4 separate regions of the Homo sapiens genome follow, and regions 1, 2 and 4 are each linked to region 3. Evidence: promoter capture Hi-C in 16 types of primary human blood cells and fetal thymus (Javierre and others, 2016). All regions are on one chromosome and are shown on one strand. Each heading gives the region's core, a stretch centred on a gene start or on the middle of the fragment in contact. The rest is flanking DNA. Distances are from core to core; before and after follow the strand shown.

Region 1 (2,924 bases), core at 180-2,679, 3.3 Mb after region 3:
CCATAAGCCTGAAATCAGCGAAATGTTATCTTCTCCTTCGCACAAGGCTTCAGGTAGAGACTGGATATCTACCCTCACTCAACCACCCTCAATGGTAGAACTAAAAAGCAACAAATGGATTTTACAAGTTAATGTCTTAAGCTATAGAAGAAAACGAAATGAAACAAAAGGAAAAGGGGAAAAAAAAACCCATTCCTACATTACTGACCGGGGGCTTCTCTTCCAATCGCATCCCAAGTCCTTTGCTGCTCAAAAAACTTAACACCTCCAACCTGGTTAGACGCTTCAAATTCCTCCAGATTTCTAAACTGCGAAAGCGAAACAAACATCTACCTAACAGGCTAAAAAGATGACGAAGTACAAAGTAAGAAAAACTTTTGCAACACAGACACTGGCCACAGTGCATTCCTACTTTCCCAGAAGGGAAGAGGAGGGGAGGCAGCTGAAATAAGAATAAGGATGAGGTAAGTATCGGTGGAAGATGACAGTTTAGGGTGAGAAGCGGCTGCTCTTTCTCACATTCAGGGGGACAGGAAGGCAAAAGGTAGGTGTTAAATTAAAAAAAAAAAAAAGTCTACCCACACCACTCTTCGTTCTTCCTCCAGCACAGCTGGAGGGGGAAGGCTCTTCCCCAGAACGCCGGAGCAGAGAGAAGGCATCGCCACCCTAGGCTAGTGGCGCCGTCCAGCCTGTCACTGGGGCTGGGACTAGAAAAGTTGAAGCAGGAGTAAAGATCTGGGGAAGACGGACACGTCCTTCCAAGGCTGAGGACCCCGGTGACCCGAGCTGAGGGCAGCCAGAGCCCGGGGTGACCAAGCCCTGCCCTACGTGTCCGGCTGTCTCTGAGGAACCGGGTCGCCTGACGCCTGCCCTGGCCCCTCTCCGCCCGGCCCCGCGCGCCTCCTTGCTTACCTGCTGCACCCCGAGGAACTGGTAGAAGTTGAGCTGCACCTCCTCCACTAAGTCAAACAACTCCAGGTCTCCGCTCTCCCAGCCGCGCGCCGGCGCCACGGCGGCCAGCAGCAGCAGCAGCAGCCACAGCAGCGGCGTCCGCGGCGGCGGCGGCGGGAACGGCACCAGCCCGAGCTGGCGGCGTCCAGGAAGCTGCGCCGGCTGGGAGCAAGGAGCCGTCATCGCGCTGGGCTCGGAAAGGTCACCCGCCGCGCAGCTCCGTTGGCCGAGAGCTGGGACGTGGCGGGCGGCGCTGGCTGTGGGGAACAGCGCCTGTCAGTGAAAAGCGCGGGCAGGCGCACCGGAGCGGCCCGCCAGGTGGCTGGCCCCAGACAGAGCGCGGAGGCGGCGGGAGCCGGCTGCCGGACGGGCGGGTGGGTAGGCGGGCGGGGCCGCAGCCAGCGCTACGTTCCGAAGACCCTCGCCCCCAGGCCTACACACAGCTGTAGAGGCAGCGCCCGGCGCCTGGGCTGCACAGTGGGTGAGGCTTCCCTTCGCCTCAGCCTATCCCAGGCCTCGCTTCCGGTGACATCATGTCTCCTAGCAACCGCGGGAAGGGGGCGTGGCCGGAAGCCTGGACGCCTGGCGCCCCAGATCTGGGCCTGGGTGAAATGCCTCTCAATCACTGGCGCGCACGGAGCAGCTGTACCTGCGCCCACATGGGCTGAGAGACAGGGACGGTTATAGCCATCTCGCGTCCATCTGGAACGCCCCACGTGGACTTCCCCTGAAATAGCTACTGTCTTCCTCTCCCCTAGCTATCGAACACTAAAAGCATATTTGAAGCCTGATTAATTGATTATGGCTTCCATGCATTTAATTAGTCCATCAGCAAAGAAGACAGGACAAGTTGAACCAGGTTCTAAAAGGGGCAAATCTAGTAAGTAGAGAGAGGTAGAGCAGAAAAGGAATTGAAACCAAAACAAAAAGTATACTTCTAATTATGAATTAAGATTTACAGGCATAATACCATAAAATGACCTGGTAGAATTAACAGTTAATAATGGTGACTCAATCATAGTTGGAGGAGAAATGTAGTTTATCCACCTTAGCCCACCTCCAGTTGGGGTTCCTTTGAAAACAGACCTCAATTGAGATGTTTCTGTTTTAAAAGACAGGCTAAAAACCTCCTCTCCCATAACAATGTCTCACCTTCTAGTCTTGCATTGCTTCTGTTCAAGCTCTTTTCAAGTTATTTTCTCCACCACAATTCTCTTGTGTGGACTTTATTATTGTGTGCTTAGCACAATGCATAGCACATGAGAGCACTCAATTAGTTGAACTGAATCCTGTGACTACCTCCCTACCACCATTCCCCCTACCACAGATTTTTAGTTTATTTATTTATTTATTTAGAGACGGAGTTTTGCTCTTGTTGCACAGGCTGGAGTGCAATGACACCATCTCGGCTCACTGCAACCTCTGCCTCCCACGTTCAAGCAATTCTCCTGGCTCAGCCTCCCGAGTAGCTAGGATTACAGACTCCTGCCACCATGCCTGGCTAATTTTTTGTATTTTTAGTAGAGACGGGGTTTCACCGTGTAGGCCAGATTGGTCTCAAACTCCTGACCTCACATGATGTGATCTACCCACCTCAGCCTCCCAAACTGCTGGGATTACAGGCATGAGCCACCACCCCCAGCCTAGTTTATTTTTGGTTATATCAGTTTTCTTAAAGTGAACGTCATCTTTACCAAGTCCCTAAATTAGGTTACTGTTTATTCAATGAACAAAACATCGAAATAAGATGAAATTAATGATCTTAAGCACTACTTTTACATATTATAGTAACATTCATCTTTTCTCCTAATTTGATCATTAGATTAAGTGCAATAAAACCTTTGAAACTGGTGCCATATTGCCACAAATCTGGGATTCTTACCCCGATCTTGTAGCAGACAGCCTAGTATTTCCCTTTTGAGTTTTACCTTTATGTTGTCTGAGAACCTCGGGGACTTACTCCATCTAAAGAT
Region 2 (3,162 bases), core at 539-3,038, 3.7 Mb after region 3:
GCTCCCCAAAAAAGAGTTTTTTGATATTTCTTTTCAATAAATCTTGTTACAAATGAGTATGTTTTTAGAAAAACTGATATTCCACTTGAAACAAAAGATAAACACTGATACTTAAATTTGCCACTTAAACCCTTATATTTTCCAAAATTATCATTCATATAATTATTGAGATATCTTAAAGAAAAAAGAATGACTATTTTTATTCAAAGAATGGCGCAATATTCTTATAATACTCAGAGAAGTACTGGCTACTCTCCTATTATTATATTTAGCTGGAATGATTTAAAATTTTTGGCTAACATATAACTATGCCTAAGAACCTGATGACATTTCTATGTAAAGTTTTTTTTTTTTTAAAAAACCATCTTAGGAATCATATTGAATATGTTTAAATCTAGCCAAGTTTTTATCTTTATACTTTTCTTAAACTTTAATACCATAAAAGAAAGCTAAGATAAAAAGCTTAAGCAAACACAGTTAGATTGTCTTTATACTATTTATAGCAATGGACAGATACTTAAAGCTTACTTAGCTAAAGATTTAAGTCTGTTACTTTATGACATATGCTTTCCCCCAACCCCTGTTAACACGGCAGGATGTTTGCAAAATGACTACTCTCCTGTAGTGACTCTTGATTTTAACCTAACAGACTATCATTATGACTCAGTTTGAACATTTGTCATCATAGATGTCATAGTTTCTACAAACAGACAAATATTGATCATAGCAACTTTTAGAAATAGAATAAAACCAAAATGAAATTAAAATTAATTTAAAAGTATTCGTTTGAAAACACTCTTTTAGGTTTCTAGAAGCACTTTAATTATTGGTTAAACTGACTTCTAAACATCTGTATTTTATATTTTTATTTATGTTCATCTTGCTACAAAAATAATTTAAGGCAACTTTCAAAAGTATATAAAAACATATGTAAGAATATTATTTTCCTTCTATTATAATTGACAAGTGCAAAATCAATTTTTTTCCAACATTTCCAGTATACACTGTTGAAAGTTCTTTATAAAGAAGAATGTATATTGCTATTGAAACTTATAAAACAAAATATGTATGTCTTTATTGATACTTTTGGTCTTATAAAACTATTTTTTATTTCAATTCATAAACATTTTAATTATTGTTTAAGCAAAAATAAAAGTTTTCTTATAGATCTATCAACTACTCACCTATATATCACAGCTAGGCCTAATTTAAAATTTTCTTTCATTTTCAAATTCTAAGAAAACCATTTGAAAATTCAGTTTTCTTAGGGCCTTGTTTACCCACATATTTCCATCTACATTGTTATTCTTTAGCAAATTTCTCCTGTTTTTGGTCTGTAATTTATAGAGCACTAAAAGTCAAATAAAAGTTGCCAATTATCTGATTAATTTTGATTTAGAATACTGCTGCTCTAAATGATCCGGCCTATTTCTGTTAGCATTAAAAAAAAAGAAAAAAGAAAAAAAGAAAAGAAAGTTGAGTAATTACGCCAGTAATTCAGGTCCAAGTTTCTAATTACATGGACTAAACTGACTATATAAATACAATTCTCCCTTTCACCTGTTGCTAGTCATTATTTTCTTGGTGTTTTGTTACATTAAAAAGATTTTATAAAACTTGCCTCCCCATCCCCTTTCATAAAATATAGATTAAAATGCTTACACAAAGAAAATTAATTTTGAAAATAACATTTGAGAGAGTTAGAAAAACATTTATGTTTTAACCTTAATAAAACAATGAAACAAAAGTTCAGGGAAAAACTGAGTATATGGGAAGAAACACAGTGGAAAAGTTTAATCTATTTTTTTAGGTGCTTGTTTTCTCAAAACTCTGTAAAACTACTTTCTAAACATTCACCACGGTGTAAAAATCAGCTACGTATAAACAATTCAAAGTATTTTCTGAATAGTTCTAGCTATGTAACAAATGTGAAAAAGCTGAACACAATTATTCTACTAGGATTTTTAAAAATGTAGTTTTTAGACTGACTTATCCATAAAATGGCTTCAAGTCTATATTTAATTTGAAAAGGGGGATAAAATCAGTATTCTGTTGAATATAACAACCATAATAGAAAAGTTAAATTCTTTTTTTTTGAGACAGAGTCTCACTCTGTTGCCAGGCTGGAGTGCAATGGCACGATCTTGGCTCACTCAACCTCCGACTCCCAGGTTCAAGCAATTCTCCTGCCTCAGCCTCCCTAGTAGCTGGATTACAGATGCATGCCACCACGCCTGGCTAATTTTTGTATTTTTGGTAGAGACAGCGTTTCACCATGTTGGCCAGGATGGCCTCGATCTCCTGACCTCATGATCCACCCACCTCGGCCTCCCAAAGTGCTGGGATTACAAGCGTGAGCCACCGCGCCCGGCCCAAAATGTTAAATTCTTAACCAGTATCATTTTAAATATTGTACACAATTAAAAATATTAAAACACTTATCTAGGCTTTCATTGCCATGTAAGCTCTTTTGAAATATTAATTTTGGTTTAAATGCTTACTTTAAATGAGTTAAAAGTACTTTAGCTGTAAAGTCTCCTTAACTGTTTATAATGTATTTAATGCAAATCATCCCTTCTTATATACTAACTTCCATTCTAAAATGCTTCATTTGACAAGTGAATATAGTTACATTTTTCAGTTTATAAGCAATTATACTGTTACTTTGGTTTTAATCTACAAAAACCTTTATTTTTGTTTTCATTTTTGTTTGTAAAATTATAGTTCCTTAAACAAAATATACTTATTTGTACACATTTTAACATGTAAAAAGCATGTTCTCAAAATACAAACTTGAAAAAGTTACTGGCTTTCAACAATAATATCCCACAGCATAGGCCCATTTGTTCCATTTTTTGCTGGAATTCGTGAAACCAACCCAAACTCCAATTTCTAAGGTATGAAAAAACACAGAGATTCCAAATCCAGACCTAAAAAACGAAGAGACTCTGTTAGACATTCTCTGCTGTTGTAGTCTAAATGTAGGACATCTTGAAACTGATTAGATTCTGGACAAAACAGATGATCTTTCAGTCTTTTCCAAGCCTTACTAATGAAGCTTAGTTGAATTCATTGTAGCTAAAAGAATCTTGGATTGTGTCACAGAAAATAAACACTAAATAAGCTTTCTGTGACACTTCTCAGGTCCTTTCTCTCTTCCTT
Region 3 (2,940 bases), core at 389-2,888:
TAGTAGAGACAGGGTTTCACCATGTTGGCCAGGATGGTCTCCATCTCTTGACTTCGTGATCCACCCGCCTCAGCCTCCCAAAGTGCTGGGATTACAAGCATGAGCCCCAGCGCCCAGCCAAATGTCTGCATCTTCATACAAAAATGCTTTGTTCTTTTCAGAAATGGTTTCTTAGAAATCCGAAAGCCAGAAAAAAAAAAAAAAAGCAGAATGTGGTTTACATCCATGTCTAACAATTGAAGAAGCTGTTACGGAATCTAAAGTTTGTTTTGTGATAATGAAGCTAGGACTAAAAATGTCCTTTTAAGCCATTACTTACACAAACACAAAATTATTCACATTTATGGTCCAACTGATAGTCATGAAAGTTAAGTTTGCATAGGGTCAGTACATTCTTTTTCCTCTACATAGGAGGTTGAAACTTGCCTTTAATGTTGTAACGTTGGAGCATATTATCCTGCATCTAAGTCTTAAAGGGTCTTTAAACCATAGCACTGGGAGGACGTAAGTCATACATTCTCCTTGTACAGGTTAACTCAAGAGTTTGGCATGTTAAAAGGCCACGTTGCCAAGGTTAAAATCCAACCATCTGACTGAAGTCAGAGTCTAAAAAAATTTTAAGCTTGCTCCTCCGTCAACTGGTTTCAAGGACATTCAGTTTCGTTTCATGCCAGGCTGTGAAGCTTTTCTTTTCAATGCTAGAACCTAACCATGGAAAGTGGAATTGAAAACAATTACACAGCGAATTGGCTTATGCGTGGACTTCGATCTGGGATCCACGAACATACCTAATGCTTGGCAAAATGGAGAGGGGTGCTATGTGTTATTATTATGTGTTATTATTAATCACATAACTGAACTCTGTGGCTCCAGGCCTTCCATGGCTCGTCTCCCAATCAATTCTTTTCAGAACTAAGAATCACGACAGGGGCCGGGCGCGGTGGCTGAGCCTGCAATCCCACCACTTTGGGAAGTCGAGGCAGGAAGATCGCTTGAGCCCAGGAAATTGAGTCCCCCTGGGCAACACAGCCCGACCTCGTCTGCAATCGATCAATCAATCAATGAGTACATAAATGCATAAGCCAATGAATGAATACGTGAATGAATAGATTAATAAATGAATGAAGAAGAATCACGGCAGAACTCCTAACCCCTAGCACGCCTGCCTAGGGGAACAGGAATAAGTCAGGAAAGAAACACTCTTCACTTCTGTGAGTTTTCTAAGAGCAGCAAACGGCGGCTGCTCACTTAGAGAACCTATGGTCTTTCCTGGTTTTAGAGGTCAGGGAAGCAGCTGCTAGCAGCAGAGACTCAAATCAAAGGGGAGTCCCACAAACGTTTTGAAGGCTGACATCAGAAGGAGCACGCACCAAGGGAAATTTCCCACCCCCCCGCGATACCGCAAATTCCCAGCCGCTGGCCGTTTGGGACTCTCCTACCGGAAGTGAAACCGAAGAAAACGCCACGTCGAAGGCGTGGGTTGCCGTAAGTGCGCCGTCGTCACGCGCCTAGCTTCCGGCGATGGGTGGTCCTGGGATCCGGAGGGGAGGCGGGGTGGAGGCGGGGCTTGGGGCTGTGGAGAGGCTGTGGTAGGTAGGTGGGTACAGACCGAGGGGACTACGGGTCGGCGTTGGGCTCAGTGGGCTCGAAACAAAGGGCTGTCCGGTGGGGATTCGTCGCGGCGCCTTCTGAGTGGTCGGGTCGAGGCTTCTCGGCCTAGCAGTGCCCTCGCTGCGCGATCTCAGGCGGGTTCTCCTCGGCTCCGCGCAGCCCGCGCCGCGGTGGGGGACCCGGCGCAGCGGCACCTGCTGCCGAGGGACCCCGCGGCCCGCCCCGGTGCTCGTGATGGGGCTGATCTTCGCCAAACTGTGGAGCCTCTTCTGTAACCAAGGTGAGAAGAATGGAGCTGCGCGGCGGCTCGAATCCGAGGCAGAGGGTCCCGCCGCCGATGGGGACACCGGAGACAGGGGACAGAGCGTTCGGAGACGCGGAGGAGGAAGGGACTTAGGCCAGGGGGCGGGCAGAAACTCAGTGTTTTAGACCTGGAGGACGTACAGGAGAGACCTGACGTGTGGGAGAAATAGGGAGGCAGAAGAGAAGGTATTTGGCGTCCCAGAATCCAAACTGAGAATGTTTGGATATTGGCGAAGTAAAGCGGGATACAGCTAATGATGCCAGGAGGCGTATGGAGGGCCTTTCTCGTCTTTATTGAAGCGTGCTTGTGTCTATGTGTATCCCCAGGATAAGTGTCCGCCCAGAAACCTAGAACTTTTTTTTTTTTGAGTAATGTAGGTGCTTTGTTTTCCCGCCCTGCAGTTTGAGCCGTAAGCCAGTGCACTTTCACTCTGATTTCGCCTCCTTTCCTCTAGGACTTGGGAATGAGTTGTCCTATTCAGATGCACGAGTTTTCCAGCATCTTCATTGTAAACTTTTTTTTTTAAAGCATTTAGTTCAGAAACTAAATGCTTTTCGGTTTTGTGTAAGACGTTACGTGTCCGTAATTAGTCTGTAACAGGTAATGAGACACCTGGAAGTGGCAGGTCCAAAGGGCCGAGAAGTTGCAAAACCTGTTCTGAATCAGAATGAGATGTGATGTCTTCTGAAGAGAGAAAACACCCAGACCAAAAAAGGGGCCGACGATAAGTTAAAGTTTGAGGCGTCCTTTGAACAGAATGGTTTCTTAGTAATTGAAACCAGTTTTGAAAATCAACTCGTTTCATTTTACATTTAAGAGCCGGGCATCGTTAATAAGCCAGTTTTATTTCCTTTTATGTTGGTACCAATTTGTTACTGCTAATGTAGGTATCTAATCTTTTTCTGGATTTAAGAAGTTGTGGAGGTAATGGAATGGCTTTAGTTGACTTGTTCTGTAGATTGATAAGAACACTAAAGCAGTCTTTTTCAAGGTTATAAATATAGATACAGGCACACACATGTGTA
Region 4 (3,037 bases), core at 356-2,855, 3.0 Mb after region 3:
CAATAGTAAAAAGCGTATCCTTATCTAGAAGAGGCTTGGCTTCATGTGCTGCTTTAATCATAGTAAGTTAAGAATTGCTAACTGCTGATGAACACTTAGTATGTGCCACACACTGTGTTAAGCAGTTAATAAGCATTAAGTGTTATTACTCATTATATAGGACAAGAAACTGAGACAGAATTCTCTTAGGTTTTAAGTGATGGAGATATGCATTTTCCCTGGGTCCAGAGCCATTTAATTAGACAGCTCAACAGATGTTTGCTGATGAGGGTCTAACACCACACTAGTGTAATGTCAGTCATACTTTAAGCAAAGAGATCCCTGAACAAATTTGAACCAATAATTTAACTTTCAGCAATAGTGTTTCTTATTGGTATGAAAAGTTAATTTTTCCTTTGGACTAATTTGAAATTGAGAAATCATTTAGTAATTGTGACAACAAGAAGCTTCCCCCCATATAATAAATAAGTAGGAAGGAGAAAATGTATACAGTCATCCTTTGGCATCCATGGGGACTTGGTTCCAGGACCTCCTGCAAATAAATACCCAAGTCCAAGATGCTCAAGTTCCTGTTATAAAACGTCATAGTATTTTCATATAACCTATGCACATCTTCCTGTGTACTTAAATCATTCTTTTCTAGATTTCTTATAATACCTAGTATCATGTAAATGCTATGCAAATAGTTGTTATACTATATTGCTTAGGGAATCATGACAGGAAAAAAAGTCTGTACACATTCAGTACAGACTCAATTTTTTCCTCCAAATATTTTCTATACAAGGGTGTTGAATCCCCAGATGTGGAATCCCACAGACACAGAAGACAACTGTATTATGTATTACATCATCACAAGTTGTTTTTCATGATGCTGTTTTTAAAAGATTGACTTTCTTGAATGACAGGTCGATAATTTAGTAATGTCGAAGATGACCTTTGTAAGCACCTGTTGTTTAAACTATAACATTCACTATAATACTAACTCCTGAGGCTAGGGGCTGTTTCTGACATACACCACTGTATCCCCACTGCCAGCACAGTGCTTTGGACATAGTAAACGTTAAACATTATTTTAAGAAATGAATGAATACCATTAGTTGTCTCGTGAGTGTATGTCATGTGGTTAGAAGTATGCTGTATGATTTTGTACTTCCCCTCTGAGTGTTTATAGCTAAGCTGTAAGACATATTACTTTATTTGTAAAGCTTTTCTTTTCTTTTCTTTTCTTTTTTGAGCTGGAGTCTTGCTCTATTGACCAGGCTAGAGTGTAGTGGCCTGATCTCAGCTCACTGCCACCTCTGCCTCCCGAGTTAAAGCAGTTCCCCTGCCTCAGCCTCCCTAGTAGCTGGGACTACAGGTGCGCGCCACCACACTCAGCTAATTTTTGTATTTTTAATAGAGACAGGGTTTCACCATGTTGGCCAGGACAGTCTCCATCTCTTGACCTCATGATCCACCTGCCTCAGCCTCGCAAAATGCTGGGATTACAGGTGTGAGCCACTGGGCCCAGCTATTTTTAAAGCTTTTCATGTAGTATTTATTTTGCCAGTTTATGATGAAAAGTATTATTAAGTTGGAAAAGATCATGGAGAGGTTGAATTGTACTTTGAAGTAGGCAGAAGACGAAGGCCAATATTACCTGAAAAGAAAGTAAAGGTCTGTTTGAGGGAAAAGCCTAATAAGAACAGGAAGCTTGTATTTGTGGCACTGTGAAGGTGATGTTTATAGGGTAGGATGGGTTCATTGAGAGATTAATGCCAGACTGAAGAAATCAAACTGATAGGCTAATGATCTTTTTCTTAAAATAACTATTCTGGCTAGTTACCATTATGAAAGAATTTCATTAATGGAAAAGAAAAAAAATGCTATCTCATTCAGCTTGGCAATGCTAATATAATCTCTTATTTGAGTACGTTTAAGTTTCTTAGGAACTCTTTAGTTACTCTCTCATTTGATCCTTGGAACAGCCTTGTGAAATAGGACAGCTCCTCTTGATGTTGTTATTTCTCCTTTACAACTAGGATGTAAAGCAGGAGTAGAGTCAGGTTCTAATGTGATTCCCTCTTGAAATTATTGGCTAAAAGCATCAGTTTTAATAGTAATCAAAATTCTCTCATGACATGTTCAAATTGTAGCAGAGTACATTTTTTCTGGGAACTGTAGATCAAATTAGAGTAGAAGCCTAGAAAACACCTATAAAATGTTTGATTCAGAGTTCAGATTCTAAAATTTGTATTATGGATTGAAGTGTGTCCTGATAAATGGCCTGTTTTATAGTGACTTGTACAAAATGGAAAATTAGTGTGTTTCTAAAAGTGATTTCTAAGAGTTTTAAGTTTGGGGCTTATAGGTTTTGTTGGTTTTTTGACTGAACTCTTTCCTACGTACATTTTTTTGGGTTCTGAACAGTTAGGCACGAGGTCTTTTGAAACATCAAAAACAGTTTTGGAAGAGTTGACAATCTGTCCTTTCCTCTTCGCTATTTATCTTCACCACATTACAAAAATTTGATTTACTAAAGTGAAAGTTGAGAACATCTTTTTCTTCACTAAAACCATCTTGTTATTTTCTCTGAGAAAAGTCTGATATTCATTAACCCATTTATGCTGGAGGTTGCGCTTTTTTGTGTGTGAAAAATCAGACCTTGGTGATGACCTTGAGCAGTAGGATATAAATAACTCCCACAAGCTTAGGTTCCAGTAATGGAACACGAGGCATAAAGAACTCAAATTGCAAGGGGTTGATGGTTTAGCATTCACTTCCTTTCTTGGGGCATACTGTGTCCTTTCAAAGTACAGGTTGAGTAACCTTTATTAAAAATTCTTGAGACCATAGTATTTGGAATTTCAGATTTTTGGGAGATTTTGGAATACTTGCATTATATATACTTACCAGGTGAGCATCACTAATCTGAAAATCTGAAATCCAAAATGCACCAATGAGCATGAGAGTCATGGGCGCACTCAAAAAGTTTTGGATTTTGGGGCTATGTTTTTGGTTAAATAATATCCAAGGAATTCCCAGTTATCCCTCCTTT

Evidence for each region. Contacts are between HindIII fragments. The CHiCAGO score rates a contact against its expected background, and 5 or more counts as called.
Region 1: a contact is called between the fragment with the promoter of DNAJC1 here and the fragment with the promoter of ARL5B in region 3, in 1 of 17 cell types (total B cells). The highest score is 5.5, in total B cells.
Region 2: a contact is called between a fragment that was not itself captured here and the fragment with the promoter of ARL5B in region 3, in 1 of 17 cell types (total B cells). The highest score is 7.5, in total B cells.
Region 4: a contact is called between a fragment that was not itself captured here and the fragment with the promoter of ARL5B in region 3, in 1 of 17 cell types (total B cells). The highest score is 5.0, in total B cells.

The regions. Positions count from the first base shown.
Region 1 is chr10:22,002,301-22,005,224 of GRCh38, forward strand. DNAJC1 (DnaJ heat shock protein family (Hsp40) member C1) reads right to left here and starts at 1,430. Exons shown (of 12, transcript NM_022365.4): 1 at 913-1,430. The coding sequence starts at 1,134. RefSeq lists a silencer at 1,064-1,433 and enhancers at 1,094-1,594, 1,474-1,523, 1,554-1,683. The HindIII fragment of the contact is 6,929 bases long and covers 1-2,924 here.
Region 2 is chr10:22,307,958-22,311,119 of GRCh38, forward strand. No RefSeq gene overlaps it. Among named protein-coding and RNA genes, the nearest start is that of COMMD3, 6.8 kb to the right of the region's middle. The HindIII fragment of the contact is 2,535 bases long and covers 522-3,056 here.
Region 3 is chr10:18,657,793-18,660,732 of GRCh38, forward strand. It overlaps ARL5B (ARF like GTPase 5B), which reads left to right and starts at 1,639. Exons shown (of 6, transcript NM_178815.5): 1 at 1,639-1,891. The coding sequence starts at 1,846. It also overlaps a transcript of NSUN6 not described here. RefSeq lists enhancers at 468-587, 1,288-1,417 and a silencer at 1,728-1,807. The HindIII fragment of the contact is 6,724 bases long and covers 682-2,940 here.
Region 4 is chr10:21,676,891-21,679,927 of GRCh38, forward strand. All of the region lies in intron 11 of MLLT10 (MLLT10 histone lysine methyltransferase DOT1L cofactor), which reads left to right. Among named protein-coding and RNA genes, the nearest start is that of MLLT10, 140 kb to the left of the region's middle. The HindIII fragment of the contact is 170 bases long and covers 1,521-1,690 here.